Linked DNA regions of Homo sapiens: all the other regions are linked to region 1. The links are contacts of gene promoters, found by promoter capture Hi-C in blood cells and fetal thymus (Javierre and others, 2016). All regions are on one chromosome and are shown on one strand. Each heading gives the region's core, a stretch centred on a gene start or on the middle of the fragment in contact. The rest is flanking DNA. Distances are from core to core; before and after follow the strand shown.

Region 1 (4,929 bases), core at 1,205-3,704:
CAGAGGGTGCAAGCCCCAAGCCTTGGAAACTTCCATGCGGTGTTAAGCCTGTGGGTACACAGAAGTCAAGAACTGAGGTTTGGAAACCTCTCCCTAGGTTTCAGAGGATGTATGGAAACTCCTGGATGTCCAGGCAGAAGTTGGCTGCAGGGGTGGGGCCCTCATGGAGAACCACTGCTAGAGCAGCATGGAAGGGAAATGTGGGGTTGGAACCACCCCACAGCGTCCCCACTGGGACACTGCCTAGTGGAGCTGTGAGAAGAGAGCTACCATCCTCCAGACCCCAGAATGGTAGATCCACCAACAGCTTGCACCGTACACCTAGAAAAGCAGCAGACACTAAACGCCAGCCCTGGAAGCAGCCAAAAGTGGGGCTGTACCCTGCAAAACCACAAGGGTGGAGCTGCCCAAGACTATGGGAAACCACCTCTTGCATCAGTATGACCTGGATATGGGACACGGAGTCAAAGGAGGTCATTTTGGAGTTTCAAGATGTGACTGCCCCGCTGGATTTTAGACTTGCATGGGGCCTGTAGCCCCTTCGTTGTGGCCAATTTCTCCTTTTTGGAATGAGTATACTTACCCAATACCTGTACCCCCATTGTATCTAGGAAGTAACTAACTTGCTTTTGATTTTACAGGCTTATAGGTGGAAGGGGCTTGCCTTGCCTCAGATGAGACTTTGGAGTGTGGACTTTTGAGTTAATGCTAAAATGAGTTAAGACTTTGTGGGACTGTTGGGAAGGCATGATTGGTTTTGAAATGTGAGGGCATGAGATTTGGGAGGGGCCAGGGGCGGAATGATATGGTTTGGCTGTGTCTCCACCCAAATCTCACCTTGAATTGTAGATCCCATAATTACCACGTGTCCTGGGAGGGACCCAGTGGGAGGTAACTGAATCACAGGGGTGGGTTTTTCCCATGCCGTTCTCTTGATAGTGAATAAGTCTCAAAAGATCTGATGGTTTTATAAAGGGGAGTTCCCCTACACAAGCTCTCTTGCCTGCCACCATATAAGACGTAAGATGTGACTTTGCTCCTCTTTTGCCTTCTGGCATGATTATGAGGCTTCCCCAGCCATGTGGAACTGTGAGTCCATCAAACCTCTTAACTTTATAAATTACCCAGTCTTGGGTATGTTTTTATTAGCAGCATGAGAATGGATTAATACAGGTAGTTTAAAGGTTTAGCATTTAAGCCTCAGGACAATCTTCCGAAGTTGTTACTAGTATTATCATCAGCTTTCAGAAATGAGGAAAATAGATCAGAGGTTAGGAACCTTGCCCACAAATTATGCAGGTCATAAGGGGTTGGGCAGGGTTCAGGACTTGAAGCCGGGTCTGTATGACTCTTAACCACTACATGTAATGCCGCACAATAAGGCTGGGACAATACAGATTCGCTTAGGTCATTATCTTATCACTGTGAAAGGAAAATAAATCTTGGGGTCCCAAGATCACTAAGCTAAAGGGAAAAGTCAAGCTGAGAACTGCTTAGGGCAAACCTGCCTCCCATTCTATTCATGTATCTCTGCTCACTAAAATAAAGGCATATCTGATTGCTTCCTTTGGAGAGGCTAATCAAACTCAAAATAATGCAACCATTTGTCTCTTACCTACCTATGACCTGGAAGCCCCCTCCCCGTTTCGAGTTGTCCCGCCTTTCCAGACCGAAAAACATGTTCATCTTACATCTGTTCTTGTCTCATGTCTCCCTAAAATGTAGAAAACGAAACTGGGCTCTGACCACATTAAGAATACATCGTCAGGACCGCCTGAGGCTGTGTCATGGGTACATGTCTTCAACCTTGGCAAAATAAACTTTCTAAATGAACTGAGACCCGTCTCAGATTTTCAGGGCTCACTCCACCTCCACAATTTCTGTCACATCTGATTCATCTGGTATTATGACTAGCCTATAAGGTTTTGTTTAAACCTACTTACCTTTTCCCAACAAATACATGCAGTTTAAATGGGAACCTGTCACTGCCACTTTTAAGTGGCAAACCAGAACCAAGTGATAAAGAGGAGGTAATCGTTCTCCCAAAGTGTGCAGAAAATCAAAGACAGGAATCAAGTATAGCCAGCCACCTGTGGAAAGTTCGGAGCTTGGGGCCCCGATGTCCTTAAAAACAAAAAATGCGGAGGGCCAGTGTTTGAGGCCTTGGCGACATTCTAGAAAGCCAAGCTGCGCCCGGTCCCCTGGGATCAGGAAGACATCTGAAAGGGGATACTCCTTCCCGCCACCCTGCTCAGTCATTCACCACCGTCCCCCACCCCCGGGACCGCCACCTGTCGCGTTCCAGGCCGAGGCGGTCCAGGGTCCCCGCGGAAGGGCGGCGGCCCCCCAACCCCAGCCCAGGCCCACTCACAGCTGCAGGAACAAGGGCGCGGCAGACGGCTACAGCAGGCAGAGAGGCCCAGGCCTCCTAGCTACCCATCACCACAGCTGGGGCGCCGAAGCCGTCGGACCTGCCTCCTGGAGCCACTTCCGGGCCTCTCTAGGAAGCCTGGAGGTCTCGGAGTCTCTATGACGCGCAGGTGTCTCCTTCACCTTCACCGGCGTTGAGGTAGCAGGAGGTTCGCTTCATGAATTCCCCCACGTTCTCTGGCTGTGCGTTCCGCCGTGGCGGGAACCCTTTTAGGGTCACGTCTTCCCCCACGTCCCCTGTCTGTGCGTTCCGCCGTGGTGGGAACCCTGTTAGGGCCACGTCAACTGCTCTTCCCACCTCCAGTGTCTGCTTTTAGACTTTCACCTCCATCTTTGTTTATCCCCAAGGCCAAGACCAGTGCCTGATAAATAGGCACTCAGGTCAGCATTGCTTGGGTGGATGGATGATGGAAAAGGCTCTATAGGGAGGCAGAATATTCACTCTCCATGTATCTCTTTAAGTTTCTATTATCTCTGAGTTTCCATATCTATGTGTGCCCATAGGTTTTCCTGTGTCCCTAATTTTCCTTATTTCTCTTTGTTCTGGTCGCCAAGCAGGCAGTGATGCCAAGACTAATCTTTGTTGCTGAAGGAACCAAGGAATGCAGAAAGGAAAGTTGGCATCCTCACTCAGAGGTCTCCTTTTGAGGCCCATCTTTTGTCTCCTCATCATGAGTGTGGTTCTGTGGATGGTTGCAGACTGTACACGTGTATGGACATGCATCCTGGAATGGACCCCTGGCTGGGGAGGATTTCATTTTAGTGTCTTGGAGGATGGAAGTTTTGACTTCATGTGGTGCTCTTGCCGATAGATCTGGTACCAAAGGCAGACTCAGAGAGGTTCATATCAATTGCCTGATTTACTGCTCAGTTTTCACTAAGCACACACAGTCACAAGGACAAAGCTCAAGTCCTAGGATATAAAAATTAATGAAGCCCAGGTGAAGAAATCAAGAAGTGCCAGTCCCTGGCACTGGCCTCTCTCATAGGATGCTCTGGCTTTCCTGCCTGTCTTGTCCTCACCTATTAGGCAGGCATAAGTCACAGGAGACTTCTTGTGCTAAGCAGTCTTAAAGAACAGCTTTGCAGTGGCTGCTTAGGATACATAAAAATTAGAAGAGAAGAGGAAGGGTATTCAGGGGGCTGAGAGACCAGCTATATGCTCTTGAGGCCAGCAGCTAAGGAAGAAAAGACCCACTGAGGATGCAGTAAAGAAGACAGACTTCCTTTGGGGAATTACAGGATCCTCTGAGGGATACCCAGATTTAGAGTGTGTGGATAAACATGAGAAATGGTGAATTTAAATGTTAGTATTCTTGTGCCACCGAGGACTCTTTTAAAATATAATCAGGCGTGTTTTAAAGGAAAATTACAAACTCTATAATTGCTTCCTTAGCTTCCATCATAATTTAGTGAGTTGATTTTATAAAGGTCTGACCAAGAGATCTAAGACAGAAATGACTGGAGAAAGAAATTAACTTCAATGTGAGTTTGTATATCAGTGTTTGTTTAGTATTGTCTTCCCCCAATAATATGTCCAGGCAGTGGATGCATCTCAGAAAGATCAGTTTGCTGTCACAATTACTCACAGGTGTGCAGTATTTTATTTCTCACTCCGATCACAGTCCAATTCAGTCTGCAGGGAAGGGGAAGAGTGCTGTGCTCCACATAATCACTCAGGGACCCAGGCTTCCCCCATTTGTTATGCCATCATGTTCAACTCTTGGCTGCCAAGGTCACTACAGAAGAGGAAGTAAGAGCTTGGCTTTCCCCAACACTTTCACTTAAAGTCTCCTGCATCCCCTTGAAATTCTTCAATCTCTTCACAGCACTTAGCTCATCTGAAATTATCTTGCATGTTGCTATAATGAAAGCTCCGTGAGTGCAGAGACCTGCTTGATTGATTGGTGTATCTCCACTACCTACTATAGTGTCTGGCATAGAGACAGAATTTTTTTTTTTTTTTTTTTTTTTTTTTTACTGGTGAATGAATCAGCAAATGAATATATGTCACATTTCTGGTTGTCCCTGTTCAAAATCCCAGGCTTGCAAACGACACCTTCTTTTGGCCCAGCTTGGATCAGAAATCACCTCTACCATTGTCAGCTGTGGCAAAAGGACACAAGAACTGCTATAAACTGTGGTCATTTCTAAAGAACGGAAATTATTGTGAGCTTGGTAGGCACATGAGAACTTTGCTATCCAAAAGTGTGGATCAGTAACATCAACATCACCTGAGAGCTTATTAGAAATGTTGGGTCTTGGATCCCATTCTAGGCTTAATAAATACAAATCTGTATTCAGCAAAATCCCTAGGTAATTCCTATGTATAGTAAAGGCTGATAAGCACTGCCCTAAAAGTGCTATGACTTAGTAGTAGTAGCACTACAACTCTCTGAGGTGGGTAAGAGAAACCTTGTAATAGTTCCACACTGCATCTGGAAATCAGGTGAGTTTAAGTGACTTACCCAAGGTCACAGAACTAGTAAATGACAGACC
Region 2 (4,929 bases), core at 1,127-3,626, 230 kb after region 1:
TTTTGATAGGATTATTTATAATTTTCTTGCTGATTTGTTTGAGTTCCTTGTAGATTCTGGATATTAGTCCTTTCTCAGATGCATAGTTTGAGAATATTTTCTCCCAGTCTGTGGGTTATCTGTTTACTCTGCTTTTTATTTCTTTTACCATGCAGACGTTTTGGGTGGGAGTGCGTGATGGATAAAAGACTGCACACTGGGTACAGCATACACTGCTCGGGTGATGGGTACACCAAAATCTCGGAAATATCTTCTTTAGTGAGGTAATCGTTCAGATCTCTTGCCCATTTATAAATTGGGTTTTTTATTCTCTTATTGCTGAGTTCTAAGAATCCCCTGTATATTTCGGGTACAATCCCTTTTTCAGAAAATTGGAAATAATCACTAAATAACTTATCCATGTAACCAGACACCACTTGTTCCCCAAAAACCGACTGAAATAAATAAAAATCCCACAAAAACAATCCCCACCCCAAAACTCTCCCCCTCAAAACAAAGCAAAACAAAACAAAAAACTCCACAACAATTGGGTGTGTCAAAGAGACATAGAAGACAACTGCAAGAGCTCCCAATGGCCAACTGGGGACAATGTGCTCTATAAAATAGAGTAGTATTGGATTATAGCCCAAGGTATGAAATCAATATCCATGCATTCATACTGATGTAAATAAATGATTAAATAAACAAATAGATGGGGGGGATACACAAATATCCTATGCAGAAGAAATGCAAGTAATTTATGTAGATACTCTTTGCTCCAAGGGGTTGGAGCATGGCTCCCATTTCTTTAGTGTGGGCTGTGCATTGTGACTTCTTCAAAAGAGTGAAGTCTGGAAAGGAGAGGAAGGGGAGTGTAACTTTGCATTGACAAACCTGGCAAACACGTCCTCAGTTGGAAGATTAAGGTCAAAATTAACAGTGACAAATTATGTTGATAGCATGCACCTTTGATATGATGTGATGAGAATGTCACTTTACCTCTGTGGTCTTCTTCTCTGCAACCTTGGTTTAATCATGAGAAAAAGATCAGACAAATTCCAATTGTTTCACATTGTACAAAATACTTGACCGCAACTTAAAAACTGTCTAAGTCTTAAAAAACAAGGAAATTCTGTGAAACTGTCATAGCAAAGAAGAGCATGGAGAGACATGTTTGGGTGGGATCCTGAAATACTGAAAGAACATTGGATGAAAACTAAGGTAATCTGAATAAAGTGTGGGCTTTGGTTAATAATAATGCTTGAATATTGATTCGTTAATTATGTCAAATGTACAATGCTAATGGAAAATGTTTATAATAGGGGATACCTGGTGTGAGGTTTAGGGGAACTTTCTATACTGTCTTTGCAATTTTTTCTGTAAATCTTAAGCCACTCTGAAATATAAAGCTTATAATTAATTAAAAAATGCACGCCAGACATTGTTCTAGGCACTAGTATGGGTAAGACATGCCCCTGTCCTCAAAGAGCTCAAGTTAGTGAGTCCACAAGGTATGTGAAAATACAGTCTAGTATTCACGTCAGAGACATGGGCAAAGGGTTTTGGAAACCTAAAGTTTAAAATGAATTGTCTTTAAACCTAAAGTTTAAAATGACTTCTAACCCACATTTTGTGAAAAAGTTAATGTTCTTCCTAAAATGTGAAAAGCTGATTGGGGGTGGTGGTGATCTTATTTCTAGGACCAGGTTTCTCTTGCTGATGAGCTCATTCCCATCTCATCTCCCACCGTGTATTATTTGCTCACATTCATGCATACCAGACAGGGTACTCATCCTGTTTCCTTCTTTTTTGCCCATGGACGTGTATTGTCAGACTTTATTGAAGATGGAAGATATAAAAGATGTTTATGAGTCTTAAATACAAAAATCTTTAAAGTATAGATTTGAGGCTCTGTTCTTTAAATTTCCTTGACCATTCCACCACAAAGAACCTCTCACCAGCACTCCAGTCTGCAGGCTCCTGCTTCCTGCCAAGAGTCTGGTCCCATCTCACATCCCTTGCCAACCTCCAATATTCTGGATGACTTCTTTTGCAGCTAAGTTTACTGTTCTGTTTATTTCTTTTCTCCCTTACAAGGCAGGTTTGGGATCTCACCTTCTTCACTCAAAGCAATCTAGCAAAGTTGTTTCTTAATAAAGATGAGTTCTTCTAAAAAAAAAATACCCAAACAAATAAAATAAATACATAGGTGCCAACTGTTAAAATAGTAGTTTCTTCGTTCGGCTACACTAGATCAGTAAACAAATGATGTGTTTCATTTGGGAGAGTTGTTAAGAAGAAGGAAGTGCCTGTTTTTTTTTCTTCTCTCTTGGTAGTTCTCAGACCACTTTACTTTCATTTGGTCTGTTGCAACACCCCAAGATGGCAGCCTCGTACTTCAGTTCTGTGTGATGTTTTGGATCAGCTCTTTCTATTTGACTCATTTTAATCAAAGTTTTGTCCACTTCTCATCATCCAATTTGACCAGGGGGATAGGGGCAAGTTCTCCATGGGCATGGCCAGCAATGCCTCAGAATATTAGTTGTCCCTGTTGTTGGGTTATTACTTACTTTATTATTCAGGACAGATTCCCTCAGCTAGATATAGCCATACCCTACAGCGGTTATGTAAGAGTCTGTAGTTTTATACATTCTTCTTTCTTTTCACTTGTCTTTTACCTTGAAATGATTAAGAGGGGGGTGTATTTCTTCAAGGGTCTATCCCAGTTAGAAAGAACTTCAAGGAGAATATTATTCGTGACTCCTTTTGTTGTGAGCTACAAAAACATAGTGTCAACTACTTTAAGCAAAAGAGGAAATGGACAGTGGAATAGCTTCCAAGATCAAGGGAAGAACTACAGGATACAGAACCTTGGCAGTGAGATGTATATATGTCTTCCCATTTCTCATCTCTCTTCTTTTTTCTTTGTTTGGCTTCTCTCTGCAGGCAGGTCCTTGCTTTCAGGCCCGGATTCCCATCCTCCTAGCTCAGTGACCCCTCGCAGAAGGAAAGTGCCTGCTTTCATGTGATGTCTGTGCATTAGTTCCAGGGAAGAGCTCTGGGCAGCCCATCTTGAGTAACATGCTCTCTTCTCGGACTAGCCACCAGGGGCATTGTGGATTATGATTGGCCTGATCTGGGACCCTTGCCATCACCAAGGGGAGTGGCTTAGGGGGCTATGACTGACAGCCTCAGAATGACAAGTGGTGGATGTAGGGCAGGCAAATCAGCCGATGTCCATTACTGAAAGGATGCTGTATTTTCCTGCTGGGATAACAAGTATAAATATTAGGTTGGTGCAAAAGTAATTGCGGTTCTTGACATTACTTTCAGTGGCAAGAGAGACACTGGGAGTAGAGAGTGAGGTTGGTGAACCTTGCAAGTTGAAGCTTTCTCTCCTCAGAATCACTTAGCCTGTGCCTTTTTCTCAGAAAGAAGAGAAAACAACCCCCTAGGCATGAAGGATTATGTGATTTGGGCAGCATGAGATCTAGATAAACTGTGGGAACAACTTCAAGGACCACTGGAGACTCTCACTGGGATACGGGGCCTCAGCTGGACCTGAAATCTCCATGGGGATGAGTGTGGTATCTTTCGTGCACTTGGGCTTTTTTCTGCGAAAGCCCCCTCTGCAGTAGGTTTCTTATTCTGAGCTGGCCTGGAATCTCGCAGCTGGCTACGATTTGTGGTACTCACACCCTGGGCTTCCTCAAGTCTGGGCAAAGAGTATGAAAAGGTTATTATTTCTCTCCTGCCTGAGGGGTTGGAGGCCTCACCTCCTGGGGCCGTTCCTAGCTCTGAATAAGAAAGTGTCTAAAGTAGTAGCGTATAAGCGTCTTTTTTTCGTATTAATGGTTGCAGTGGATTATAAAGGGGAACCCAGCAGGCGTGGAAGGGCTTGCATCCATTTCAAAAGCTCCAGTACATTCAGAGGCCAAAGAAAGTCCTTTGAGAGTGCCCTGTAAAGAGTGTTGCCAGTAGTTTTTGTAACCGTAAGCCCTGGCAGGGATTCTGGACCAAACTGATGTCATTTCATTTTCCATTCCGATCACAGTCTAGTAGAGTCAAGTGGAAGTCCAGCTGGGGTCTCGTTTTTAGCTTTAAGAGAAAGCCATACAGGACTCATTCAAAAAACTTTTGTGAAGGTCTTTCCATTGGCAGGACCTGGGGCCAGGATTGGGGAGCTGCATGCCCCTATCCTCAGGGAGCTCACAGTTTAAACCATAGAAGTTCGTAAGTCGTACATAACTATAGCATAAAACTGCATAGGAACAGAACTCTGAGAGAGGTAGAAGACAATGACTCAGTTTGGAGGGGAGATACTTTTTTTTTTTTTAACCAGGCAAGGTCATGGGGTATGAAGTAGAGAAGGGGGATGGATCACAATTTTATCACTGGCGTGTATCCATGACCTCCTTGGAGTCCAAAGAGAAACACCAGAAAGAAACATCAAGAAATTGTCTCTTTTGCCAAATCTAAGAATATATTAGCGATGTCATGATATTTCCTGAACAAAGAGATATCTCAGAATTGCAATAAGGGAGGGTGTTTTAAAAGAGCTATGTACAAATTAAAAAAACATTTTTTCTTGTTATAGTATTTCCCAATACTTTCCGAATTTAGACTTCCCTCTCCCTTTTCTACCATAAGCCCCATCCATGTAAGAGATGGGAAGAGTGGTAGAAGGGGTAAATCTGCCAATAATAATATATGTTCTAATTAGGAGAGAATAATAGGCGGTCTTGTCCTGTGATCTTACCTTCTTGTGACATTGAAATCCCACTCATGAGCATTGAAAATATTCCTGATAGAGCCAGGCTAGAGTTGCCAGATAAAATACAGGACAGCAGCTAGATTTTAATTTCAGATGAACAAAGAATAACTTTTTATAGTAGTGTAAATATATCCTGGGAACCCTAACCCAGACTCTTTTGGCATATTGGCACTAGA
Region 3 (4,929 bases), core at 1,790-4,289, 210 kb after region 1:
GAACTGATAGGAGAGCCGGCTTCCTTTTGTGTTTAAAAAAAAGAAAGTGTGTGTTCATATATGTAAAGATCCATGTATAAATCCATGCAGCAATGGAGAGTACCCGCCAAAGAACAGGGAAAGGGCCCACTCATGTTTTAAATTGTGTATTTTTGGATGTTTGAATCTTTTACAATCTGAATATTATCTATATGCTATTTATACAATTCAAATTTAAATAAGAAAAAGAATAAGAATTTTCTCTGTTATTGTCCTTTTACTCTTAAGAATATAAAACAATACTTATGTATTTGCAATGAAAACTGGGGATTTAGAGAGAGTGAAGTCGCCCGAGTATGTCTCCTGACAAAAGGCATCTCTCGATACTGGCTCACATGTCCAGATAGGTCAAGCTACCTTTTGGAAGCCCAGTTCTCTTCAGCAATTTCTTCCATTTTGGTGGGTACTTTCTAACGCGCTTCCCAACCCTGGGCCATAGCTAAGGGCCCTTCTGTTTCCCCGCACAGGCTGGCTGTTGGCAGCCTTTGCTCAAAGGCAGACTGACGTCCTAATCAGAGTGCTTTGCCGGTAGCACTGGCATTTCAGAAACACTGACAACCGCGGCGGAAGCAGCAGATAAACAGCATATCACCCGCTAGAGTGGGCCTTGCTGTTTCTCAGATTAAATGGAAACATATGCCCAATTGTGAATTTTAAACAGCGTTATCAGACTGTTTGACAGCTCATCCAGTAATATAATAAGGTTCCACTGAGAAGGTGGAAGCTGTAATTCAAATTTCAGAATTTCCTTTTATATATCGGTAGATGAGAGGGTTGTGGGTATGGTTTCCATGTACCTGGGGCTGGTGTGTGTATGCACGCATTCAGATGCTTACATATGTGCGTATGTGACCGTCCTAATTTAAAATATTTTATGCTGTTTTCTTTGTCAACCACCAACATATTCCCCAACGATAAAATTCTTATGTCTAAGCCACATTTCCAAGGGGTCAGAGGGTGGGTGGGTATACAGGAGGGGGGATGGAAAACAAATTCTGGCTGGGGTTATGCTGTTTAACGATTTATAATTTCTATTCTAACTGTGTACCATCCATTCGCACAATAAGTATATTTTCTTTGTTAAGAAAAACTCAGAAAGAAGTACAGCAGATTACCAAATATAGAAAGCAACTTAAGTATTCATCTTTCATAAAACTTGTTTTGGTAAATGGTTTCATTCTGAGAATCTTTTATATTTTAATTTTAAAACAATTGAAAATAATTGATGTGTTTATGGCCTTCGTTTGTATTCTTGAAAGGAATATCTCGGATCATCAAAATGTTGCCAACTTCTACATCATGTGCCAGATGTGTGGGGCTGAGACAACTGTAAAGAAGTAGTGTGTGGTGTGTGAGGTGTATGAATGTGGTTTGTGTGTGTGATGTGTGTGTGTGGTGTGTGTGATGTGGTGTGTGGGGTGTGTGGCGTGGTGTGTGTGCTGTGTGTATGGTGTGGTGTGTGTGCTGTGTGATTCGTGGTGTGTGTGCTGTGGTTCATAGTGTTTGTGTGTGGGTATGTGATTGTGTGTGGTGTGTGAATGTGTGGTGTGTGTGTACGATGTGTGTTGTGTGGTGTGTGTGTGCTGTGGTGTGTGGTGTGTGTGTGGTGTGGTGTGTGTGGTGTGTGTATGATGTGTGTGTGTGCTGTGCATGGTGTGTGTGTGGTGTGTGGCATATGCGTATGATGTGTGTGGTGTGAGTGTATGATGTGTATGTGGTGTGTGGGGTGTGTGTGGCGTGTGCATGGTGTGTGTGGTGTGTGAGTGTGCGGTGTGGCATGTGTGGTTTGTGTATGTGGTGTGGGGTGTGTGTGGTGTGTGTGTGATGTGTGTGTGTATGATGTGTGTGTGTGTGTTGTATGGTGTGTGTATGATGTGTGTGTGGTATGGTGTGTGTGCAGTGTGTGTGGTATGTGTGTGTGGTGTGTGTGGTGTGTGGTGTGTATATGATGTATGTGTGTGTGTATGGTGTGAGTGTGTGACATAAGCATGGCAAAGGGCAGGATTACACCGAAAGCCAAAGCAAGAACCTTCTTTTTTTCCATCTTTCCTTTCTTTTCTTTTCTTTCCTTTTCCCCTTTCTTTTCTCTTCTGATTACTTCAGTCTTCTCTTCCTCATTTTCCCTTTTATTCTATACTTCCCTTTAAAAATGTTTCATAACTTTAAAAAAATTGACATATCATAGTTCGTACTTGGGGGGTACACGTGATGTTTTGATACCTATATACAATGTGTAGTGATCAAATCATGGCAATTGGGTTACCTATCACCTCAAACATTTTTCTTTCCCCTGTGTTGGGAACGTTACAATTCTTTCTCTTCTAGCTACTTTTAAATCTACAATAAATTATTGTTAACTATAATTTCCCTACTGAACTATCAAATACTAAAACTTATTCTTCCATGTAACTGTATTTTTGTACCCATTAACCAACTTCTCTTTCCCCCTTTTCCTCCTTCCCTCCCCAGCCTCTGGTAAGCACTATTCTACTCTCTACCGCCATGAGATCTATTTTTTTTTAGCTACCACATAGGCATGAGAACATGTGATATTTGTTTTTGTGTGCCTGGCTTATTTCACTTAACATAATGACCTCCAGTTCCATCCATGTTTCTGCAAATGACAGGGCTTCACTCTTTTTATTGCTGAATAATATTCCATTGTGTATACAAACTACATATTCTTTATCCATTGATGCACACTTAGGTAGAGTCCGTATCTTGACTGTTGTGAATAGTGCTCTAATAAACATGGGAGTGCAGTATATCTTCAATATAATGATTTCCTTTCTTTTGGATATATACCCAGCGGCGGTATTTTTGGATCATATGGCAGTTCTATTTTTAGTTTTTTGAGGATCTCCATAATATTTTTCGTATGGCTGTACTACTTTGCATTTCTACAACAGTATACAAGAATTCCCCTTTCTCTGCATTCTTTCCAGGATTTGTTTTATTTTATTTTATTTATTTTATTTTTGAGATGGAGTCTCGTTCTGTCACCCAGGCTGGAGTGCAATGGCATGGTCTTGGCTCACTGCAACCTCCACCTCCTGGGTTCAAGCGATTCTCATGCCTCAGCCTCCTGAGTAGCTGGGATTACAGGTGTGTGCCATCATGCCCAGCTAATTTTTGTATTTTTACTAGAGATAGGGTTTCGCCATATTGGGCAGGCTGGTGTGGAACTCCTGACCTCAAGTGATCAGCCTGCCTCAGCCTCCCCAAGTGCTGGGATTACAGGTGTGAGCCACTGTGCCCTCCGGGATTTATTATTTTGTATCTTCTTGATAATAATCAATCTAACTGGAGTGAGATGATATCTCATTGTGGTTTTGATTTGCATTTCCCTGAAGATTAGTGATGTTGAGTTTTTTTTTTTTTTTGCTTAACTTTCGGCCATTTGTATATTTTCTTTTGAGAACTGGCTGTTCAGGTTTTTTGCCCATTAAAAAAAACTAGGAATGGGGTCAACTGGGGTGTTGCCCAGGCCAGCTTCAAACTCCTGGGCTCAATCCTCTTGCCTCAGCCACCTGAGTAGTTGGGACTATAGGCATGTGCCTCTGTGCCTGTGTCCGTTTTAAGATCAGATTATTTGCTGTTGTTTGTTTTATTGCTCTTGAGTTGTTTGAGTTCCTTATATATTCTGGTTGTTAATTCCTTATCGGATGGTGCTATAGTTCGGATATCTGACCTTCCAAACCTTCTATTGAAATTTGATCCCCAACAATGGAGGTGGGGCCTAATGGGAGGTGTTTGGGTCATGGGGGCAGATCCCTCATGAATGACTTGGTGCCATCCTTGTGGTAATGAGCGAGTTATCCCTCTATTAGTTCCAAAGAGCTGATTGTTTAGAGTCTGGTGGTACCTTTCACCCCTCTCTCTTCCCTGCTGTCACACCGTGTGGTCTGTGTACACACCTGCTCTCCTTCACCTTCCACCATGAGTGGAAGCAGCCTGAAGCCCTCACCAGAAGCAGAAGCTGGTGCCAGGATTCTTGTACAGCCTGCAGAACAGTGAGCTAAATAAACCTCTTTTCTTTATAAGTCACCTAGTCTCAGGTATTCCTTTAAAGCAACACAAACTGAGACAGATGGATAGTTTGCAAATATTTTCTCCCATGCTGTAGGTGGTCTTTTCACTTCATTAATTGTTCTCTTTGCTGTGCAGAAGTTTTTGGCTTGATACAATCACATTTGTCTGTTTTCGCTTTTGTTACTGATGCTTTTGAAGTCTAACCCCCAAAAATCTTTCCCCAGATCAAAGTTTTTTTTTTTTTTTTTCTAGTAGTTTCATAGTATCAGGTCTTACCTCTAAGTCCTTAATCCATTTGGAGTTGACTTTTGTATAGGGTGAAAGATGGGGATTTATCTCACTTTTTCACATCCACTATACTTATCTTCCCTCCTATCTTTTTTGTATACATGGTTATAGGATTTTCACCAGTGTTTTATTATGTTTTTAGAAAACATGTTTTGCAGAAGAGAAACTCTTATGAATTTTCTGTTGTGCTTCAAATCGTAATCATTCAAGGAATATATCCCAAATAGCTCTGATAGGAAACACTATTGAACAATTAGTAAGATATGTTCATAAGAATCATTATGAGGAATAAAAACAACTAAGGTTCTTAAAAAGAAAAAAATACTTCCAACTGTAAAAATATCATTTTTTATTAGAATGATCTTCATTTACTTCAACACAAATAAATTTAAAGCAGCATTAGAAAATGTAGCATTTAATAAAGTCTTTATACATCCTGTTCTCAACTGACATTTTTTCCTTAAGAAATACCTGAATTTGGTTGTGACATTAAATTCGCAAAGTTTGGCTCTGTATTTTTAGTGCCTTATTTGTGATTTTGTTGTTTTAAAATAAAAGCTATTCAGTGTG

The links. Contacts are between HindIII fragments. The CHiCAGO score rates a contact against its expected background, and 5 or more counts as called.
Region 2: a contact is called between a fragment that was not itself captured here and the fragment with the promoter of SDR42E1 in region 1, in 3 of 17 cell types (monocytes, M2 macrophages and M1 macrophages). The highest score is 6.7, in monocytes.
Region 3: a fragment that was not itself captured here is called in contact with the fragment with the promoter of SDR42E1 in region 1 in 2 of 17 cell types (M2 macrophages and M1 macrophages); the score reaches 5.5 in M2 macrophages.

What each region holds. Positions count from the first base shown.
Region 1 is chr16:82,009,016-82,013,944 of GRCh38, forward strand. SDR42E1 (short chain dehydrogenase/reductase family 42E, member 1) reads right to left here and starts at 2,455. Exons shown (of 3, transcript NM_145168.3): 1 at 2,372-2,455. RefSeq lists a silencer at 2,230-2,379 and enhancers at 2,620-2,709, 2,720-2,799. The HindIII fragment of the contact is 9,437 bases long and covers 1-4,929 here.
Region 2 is chr16:82,238,567-82,243,495 of GRCh38, forward strand. No RefSeq gene overlaps it. Among named protein-coding and RNA genes, the nearest start is that of MPHOSPH6, 71 kb to the left of the region's middle. The HindIII fragment of the contact is 1,980 bases long and covers 1,387-3,366 here.
Region 3 is chr16:82,218,971-82,223,899 of GRCh38, forward strand. No RefSeq gene overlaps it. Among named protein-coding and RNA genes, the nearest start is that of MPHOSPH6, 51 kb to the left of the region's middle. The HindIII fragment of the contact is 6,919 bases long and covers 1-4,929 here.